2 separate regions of the Homo sapiens genome follow, and region 2 is linked to region 1. The links are contacts of gene promoters, found by promoter capture Hi-C in human tissues and cell types (Jung and others, 2019). All regions are on one chromosome and are shown on one strand. The core of a region is centred on a gene start or on the middle of the fragment in contact, and the rest is flanking DNA. Distances in the headings are between cores, read along the strand shown.

Region 1 (3,568 bases), core at 1,047-3,546:
ATCAGAACTGAATTGGAAGATACCCAGTTGGTGTCTCTTGCACAAATGACTGCCCGCTTGGTGGCAGGGAGAAACCTCTCCTCACATTTGGTCACAGAAGACATCTCTGTTGATTGTCGTTGAGTGAGATAATAGAAAAAGCACGATGGGTGGTTTTTCCACACACAGGTTCTCTTCAGGACCCCTAGCCCAGCATGGTCCTGGCCCACCTCTGAGACTCAGCCTCTCCCCACCCTGCCCCACTGCGTCCTGTGTGGTCATTAGACTATGGTGAAGCACACACACACAGTCACCATGAAGCACTAAGGCGACCACAGACCCTACGGTAATAGGACAAAAACCTCACTTAAAGTTCAGACCCCAGGCTCAGACAGGAAAGAGCGGGAACCAGTCTTCTGGGCCTGGGCTTTCAGAAGCTTAGCCCCGTTCCAGAAAGCCACAGTCCCCCACTACCACCGCCTTGGTCCAGGTCACCCCCATCTCTCATAGGGTCTTGCTTCCTCCAAAAAAGTCTCCCCACCACAGCCACATGGATGGTTCAAAAACACACCAACTCCCGCCCCTCTCCTCCCAAAGCCCTTCAATGGCCACCCACTCCCTTTAAGTACCAAACCCTCCACTCAGCTTAAACTGGGCATGCTTTGGTCCTGACTGGCTCTCAGAATCACACCCTCTTTCTTGTCACTCCCACCTCAAACCCAGTACTCTGCAAAAGTCCCAGCTTCTCCCATACCAGGTCTCTAGCGAGACACTTCCCTCACTTCTCCCCCTGACCACCTCCCACCTTCCTTCAGCTCAGCTGGATCATTTCTCAGGACAATGGCAGGTGCAGTCGTTCAAGAAAGGGCCAAGGGCACGGTGGGCCTCCGGGAGCAAAGCTGGGTTCTCCGCAGTTAGCATTCACTCCCACGCCACCTTCATTAGGTGTGCTCCAGCCACACCTCCCGCCTTCCAACACTGTGTGCCGTGGCAGCCTCTCTGCCTTTTGACATACTGGCTGTCCCCTGAAACTCTGCCTGGAATGACCCTGGCAAACTTCTCCTCTAGCTCAACCTTCAAGAATCAGCTCACCTGCTGCTTAGCATCTCCTCCCCACGACTCCTAAGACGCCCTCCTTAACACCCACCCCTTCCCAGAATCCCATGCCCACCCAGATGGGTTCCCTGCCAGCGACGACACAGCTTCCTCCAGATAAAAACGACCTACTTGTCTTATGCCCCAGGTCCCTAGGCCCTGACAGCAGGGACCGTCTCATCTCTATTTCCAGTGTCAATTCCTGGAGCCTATCAGGCATTCAAAAACAAAATGTTAGTTCCTTGAATGAAAAAATTAAGGAGGAGACAACCTAAAAGCGTCCCCATGTGCCCTAACTCGCTCCCTCCCCGGTTCGGCCGCCCTCGGCCACCTCAGGTCTCCTGCTCTATAGACTGTCCTGTGGGGCCACCTGAGTCTCAGCAGAACATTAAAACTTAAACCCGGCCCTGCACCTGCAGGCGCGGGGACCACAGCTTAGGAGGTGGTCGTCGGGCGCGCTGTTACCGTCTTAAGTTATCACCAGACCTGGGAACACTTCCACCCACGCCCCGCAGGTCCAGGGACCTCAAGTTGGAGAAACCTAGCCCTGAGATCAGGTCGGAGAGGGAGCCTCAGGGTGGGCGGCACGGGGACCCGGGGTCTCGCGGGGCTAAGGACACTGGGAACCACGGCTCCCCACAGGAAGATGCCCCGGGCCTGGGGGCTTCTGAGGAGGTTGCTGGAAGCAAGTCCCAAGGGAACCTCGAGAGTTTCCGGAACCAACAGTTCTCAGGGCCCACTAGCGGCCGGGGTCCTCAGGGGGTCTCGGAGTCCAGAGAAAATCTTGGAGTTTCGGGGTTCGCGGGCCTGGAGGGGCAGGGCGGATCCTGAGGGGGTCTCGGGGGCAGGGGCTCCAGGGGAAGAGCTGAGAGGGAGTCCTGGGGTGGCCCCGGGGCCGGGGCGGATCCTGAGGATCTCGGGGTCCCCAGGGGCTCCGGATGCAGGGACCGCGGGCCCGCCCCGCCCCCTCACCTGCGGCGCCTCCGAGACGCTGGTCCCAGCTCGCGCTGCCACCTCTTCGCCTCCGCAGCCGGCTACGCCTCCGGGGTCTCTCGGCGGCCGCGCACCCCTGACGCTGGGCGGGGCAAGGGGATGGTTCTCGGGGAGGGGACTGCGCAGGCACGCGGGCTAGAAGCGAGAGCGAGAGCCGGAGTCGGAGCCAGAGCGGACGCCACGCCGCCTCCAGGCGCCCCTCCGCGTTAGCCGGCAGCGGCGCCGCCGCAAACCCTTCCCCCGCGCGCCCGCCCCAGCCGCGTGAACGTTCCGTCCCGAAACCAACGGCCCCGCGGTCCCCGGAGGCCCCGCCCCGGGGAAGGGCGAAGCCAGGACGCGCGCCCCGCCCCGCCCCGCCGCCAGATCCTCTGGCACCGCCCACCTCGGTGACCACGGTCCCGCCCACCGGGGAGGCCACGCCCCCGGGGTCTCCAGCGCAGGCGCGGTCGGATGTGCGGGGGAGGGCTTGCGCTGGGGAGCGCTTGGGCCTAGAGTCCGCGTCCTAGCCCTACCTGGCCCGGCGAGCCGCGCGTCCCGTTTCCTCATTTGCAGAAAGGGGGCGGGAGCACTTTGCAGGGACGTGGCGAGCATCAAGTGCGATCGGAAGCGCTCCTTTGCAACTGCATCCTGCACCACACTTAGGCACAGCTTCTGTCCCCAACCCAGACCTGAGGCTGGTCTCCGTCCCCCAGCAGACTCCTGCCCGCTTAAATTGGCCAGTCACCAGCCCTACCTTCTTTCTTTTTCAGAGTACTTGTCACTCTCCGAAATTAGGTACGCTTGTGACTGGCTCCCACTTCCCCTGAGAGCCGGTACCTTGTCCGTCTTGTCCACTGGGGGTTCCCAGAAGCCAGCACGGCGCTGGGCACACCATGGCCGCCCACATGTTTGTGCGTGCGTGAGTGTCTTCCCCGCGCTCTTCCCTCATCAAGAAATACTCTTCCCCGAGGCTGAGAATTTCTCCTAAAAATACAAGAAATACTCTTCCCCAGCTTAGGTTCGATCCGGCGAGGCCCCCTGACTCCTCGCGCATCCCTGTCGCAGGTGCCGCGTCCGTAAAGGGTGTGATCCTAGCACCTACCTTGTGGGTATTGCGAGGACTGAGATTGTGCGTGGGTGGGCTGGGCACGGGCCCCCTAGCGATCTTATTACTCCTCCTTTGTCTGCCACTGAAGTCTTTTACCTAAACAAGACCCAATCCACTTCCTCTTCCCAGCCTGCCCTGCCCAACCTGGAGTCATTTATTACTTCCTGTCTCCTTGGCACCTTTTTTTCCTGCCTGATTTTAAAGTTGGCTGTTAATATCTCCCCCTACCCTAGCCCACCAGAAAGCTCTCATTTTGTGACAGAAGGTAGTGTTGTGTTAGCGGCCTGTGAAATTTTAGGGGGGGCCAGAGCCCAGAAAACAGTGGGAGCAGTGACTCTGGGATGAAGAGGGCAGCCCCTGGGTGCTCTGTATGTGGGGTCAGGCACTCCCTGAGCACTTTGCATGCGTTCCTTC
Region 2 (4,140 bases), core at 520-3,019, 130 kb before region 1:
GCAAGTGAGGTTCGAAGATGGGGGAGCATGAATCTGGGGGTGGGCTGGATGAGGTGGTGGGTGGGGGAGGATCAAGGCCTTTACTTGGTCGGGGCAAGCACAGATGAAGCCCCACCTGGCAACTACCTACTCTGTGTCACTCACAGCCTCATTCTCACTCGGCATCCTCCAGCTTCTTTTCACCACTCTCTTAACATCACGTGGGCACAATCCATATGGTTGAAAAGATGCCTCTTGCTGGGCGCGGTGGCTCATGCCTGTAATCCCAGCACTTTGGGAGGCCGAGTCAGGTGGATCACGAGGTCAGGAGATCAAGACCATTGTGGCTAACGCGGTGAAACCCCGTCTCTACTAAAAATACAAAAAATTAGCTGGGTGTGGTGGTATGCGCCTGTAGTCCCAGCTACTTGGGAGGCTGAGGCAGAGGCAGGAGAATCGCTTGAACCCGGGAGGCGGAGGTTGCAGTGAGCCGAGATCGCACCACTGCACTCCAGCCTGGGTGGTGACAGAGCAAGACTCTGTCCCAAAAAAAAAAAAAAAAAAGAAAAGAAAAGAAAAGAAAAGGAAACATGTCTCTTTGGAAAAGGTGCTCTAGAGGCCCCTGCTCCATCCCCAACCTTCACCCCATGATCCCTCCTGTAACCAGGCTCAGGACGCTGCTCCACCCAGGAGCATGGGGACCTGTCACCTCATTGCACCAACATTCCAAAGTGGCTGTCGCTTCTGCAGAGGGAGACCCGGTGCAGGTGGAAACCAGATGGCCAGAGGCTATGCTGGGAGCACGAGAGATAGATGTGCCACCTGCTGGTGGACAGCTCTCCAGTAGACAGCAACAGCTCACTGCACATGAGAGAAGAGAGACAGACTCTCTCATATTGTTTTATCTTGTTTTATACTCAGAAAAGGAAAGAAAAGCGAAACGAAATGCAGGTAGCCCGGCGCCTAGGAACCAGACCCGAAACCAGGCCTGGGCCTGCCTGACCTAATCCTGGTAGTTAAAGATCGACCCTGACCTAACCGGTTATGTTATCTATAGATTCCAGACTTTGTATGGAAAGGCATTGCAAAAATCCCTGTCCTGTTCTGTTTCCTTCTGATTACCGGTGCATGCAGCCCCCAGTCATGTACCCCCTGCTTGCTCAATCGATCACGACCCTCTCGCGCGGACCCCCTTAGAGTTGTGAGCCCTTAAAAGGGACAGGAATTGCTCACTGGGGGAGCTCGGCTCTTGAGACAGGAGTCTTACCTGATGCTCCCGGCCGAAAGAACCACTTCCTTCTTTAACTCAGTGTCTGAGGAGTTTTGTCTGCGGCTCGTCCTGCTGCATGCATAACAGATGGTACCCGGTTTCTTAGGGGTCCTCCCTTTGCAGTCCTGTCAGGGGTAGGAGTGTGGTTGGGTTTTCTTTTTCTGTCCGTTTCCATCACTCCAAAAAGTAGCCTCATGCCTGTTTGCCATCAAACCCCCTCACCCTGTCCCAGGCAAGCACTGATGGAATAGTTATCCCAATTCTGGAACTCCCCATAGATAGAATTGTAAACTGTGAACTCCTTTGTATCTGTTACAATGTTTCTGATTATGATTTTTTTTTTTGAGACAGAATTTCGCTCTTGTCACCCAGGCTGGAGGGCAGTGGTGCGATCTTGGCTCACTGTAACCTCTGCCTCCCGGGTTCAAGCAATTCTCCTGCCTCAGCCTCCCAAGTAGCTGGTATTACAGGAACACCCCCCACCCCACCCCTCACCACCATGCCCAGCTAATTTTTTATTTTTATTTTTTATTTCATTTATTTATTTTTTTGAGATGGAGTCTTGCTCTGTTGCCCAGGCTGTAGCGCAGTGGCGTAATCTTGGCTCACTGCAACGTCCACCTCCCGGGTTCAAGCAATTCTCATGCCTCAGCCTCCTGAGTAGCTGGGAGTACAGGCACATGCCACCACGCCCGGCTAATTTTTTGTGTTTTTAGTAGCGATGGGGTTTCACCATGTTAGCCAGGTTGGTCTTGATCTCCTGACCTCGTGATCTGCCCCCTTGGCCTCCCAAAGTGCTGGGATTACAGGCCTGAGCCACTGCGCCCCGCCCTGATTATGATTTCTGATTCTGCCGTTTTGACGGGTATATCAGCAGTTTGTTTCTTTTCAGCTGTGAGTGATAGGAATATAACTTTTGTTTATCTGATCACCTGTTGATAGATATTTTGGTTGATCCAAGTTTGGTGCTATCATGAATAAAGATGCTATAAACATTTCTGTAAAGGTCTTTTTGTGATTTTTTGCTTGTTTTTTTGAGACAGAGTCTCACTCTGTACCCGAGGCTGGAATGAAGTGGCATGATCTCAGCTCACTGCAACATCCACCTCCCTGGTTCAAGTGATTCTCATGCCTCTGCCTCCTGAGTAGCTAGGACTACAGGTGTGCACCTCCACACCTGGCTAATTTTTGTATTTTTAGTAGAGTCAGGGTTTCACCATGTTGGCCAGGCTGGTCTCAAACTCCTGACCTCAGGTAATCCACCTGCCTCAGCCTCCCAAAGTTCTGAGATTACAGGCATGAGCCACTGTACCCGGCCTAAAATTTTTTAAATTTTTTGTAGAGACGAGGTCTCGCTATGTTGACCAGGCTGGTCCTGAACTCCTGACCTCGTGATCCACCTGCTTCGGTGTCCCAAAGTGCTGGGATTACAGGCGTGAGCTACCGCACCTGGCCTTATTTTTATGTTATTTATTTATTTTTATTTTTTATTTTTTGAGATGGAGTCTCACTCTGTTGCCCAGGCTGGAGTGCAGTGGCATGATTTCGGCTCACTGCAATCTCCACCTCCCAGGTTCATGCCATTCTCCTGCCTTAGCCCCCTGAGTAGCTGGGACAATAGGCACCCGACACCATGCCCGGCTAATTTTTTTGTATTTGTAGTAGAGATGGGGTTTCACCGTGTTAGCCAGGATGGTCTCAATCTCCTGACCTCGTGATCTGCCCACCTTGGCCTCCCAAAGTGCTGGGATTACAGGCGCGAGCCACAGCACCTGGCCTTATTTTTATTTTTGTAGACAGAGTCTTGCTGTGTTGCCCAGGTTGGAGTACAGTGGTGTGACCTCAGCTCACTGCAACCTCCGCTTCCCGGGCTCAAGAGATTCTCCTGCCTCAGCCTCCTGAGTAGCTGGGATTACAGGTGCGCACCATCATGCCTGGCTAGTTTGTATTTTTAGTAGAGACAGGGTTTCACCATGTTGGCCAGGCTGGTCTCAAACTCCTGACCTCAGGTCATCTTCCCACTTCGACCTCCCAAAGTGCTGGGATTACAGGCATGAGCCACCGTGCCTGGCCCCCTTCCCATTATTCTAAACATAAGAACTTGAACACAGAATAAAGAACCATGTGCAAATGACTCTATTTTTCTTCCTGTTTATCTTATGGCTTCATTTTAAAATGAATAGGCTATCTTTTAGAACAGTGTTAGGTTTACAAGAAAATTGAGTAACAAGTATAGAGGGTTCCCATATGCTCCCTTCCCATAGGCCCCTAGTTCCCCTATTATTAATGTCTCATGTTAGTGTGGTACATTTGTTACAATTGACTAGCCAACATTGACACATCATCATCACCCAGAGTTTATAATTTACATTAGGGGTCACCCTGTGTACATTCTGTGGATTTTGACAAATGTATAATGACATATACCCAAGGTTACAGCATCACACAGCAAAGTTTCACTGCCCTAAAAATCCTTGTGCTCTCTCTGCCTATTCATCCCTCCCTCCCCTCAGTCCCTGGCAACCACTGATGTTTTTACTGTTTCTATAGCTTTGCCTTTTTTGAAAAGTCAGGCTGGGTGCAGTGGCTCATGCCGTAATCCCAACACTTTGGGAGGCCAAGGTGGGTGGATCATCTGAGGTCAGGAGTTCAATACCAGCCTGGCCAACACAGTGAAACCCAACTCTACTAAAAATACAAAAATTAGACGGGCGTGGTGGTGCACGCCTGTAGTCCCAGCTACTTGGGAGGCTGAGGCAGGAGAATCGCTTGAACCTGGGAGGCGGAGGTTTCAGTGAGCCAAGACGGTGCCACTGCGCTCCAGGCTAGGCAACAGAGGGAGACTCCTCAAAAAAAAAAAAAAGTCATATGATTGGACTCATACAGTAGAT

What was found. The method cuts DNA at HindIII sites, captures the fragments that hold promoters and counts their contacts. A contact is called where the count stands out against the background at its distance.
Region 2: a fragment that was not itself captured here is called in contact with the fragment with the promoter of FAM118A in region 1 in 1 of the 25 tissues and cell types used here (aorta).

What each region holds. Positions count from the first base shown.
Region 1 is chr22:45,308,662-45,312,229 of GRCh38, reverse strand. It overlaps FAM118A (family with sequence similarity 118 member A), which reads right to left and starts at 2,296. Exons shown (of 9, transcript NM_017911.4): 1 at 2,047-2,296. RefSeq lists an enhancer at 426-1,234 and a silencer at 1,951-2,630. The HindIII fragment of the contact is 15,582 bases long and covers 1-3,568 here.
Region 2 is chr22:45,438,017-45,442,156 of GRCh38, reverse strand. No RefSeq gene overlaps it. Among named protein-coding and RNA genes, the nearest start is that of RIBC2, 26 kb to the right of the region's middle. The HindIII fragment of the contact is 9,206 bases long and covers 1-4,140 here.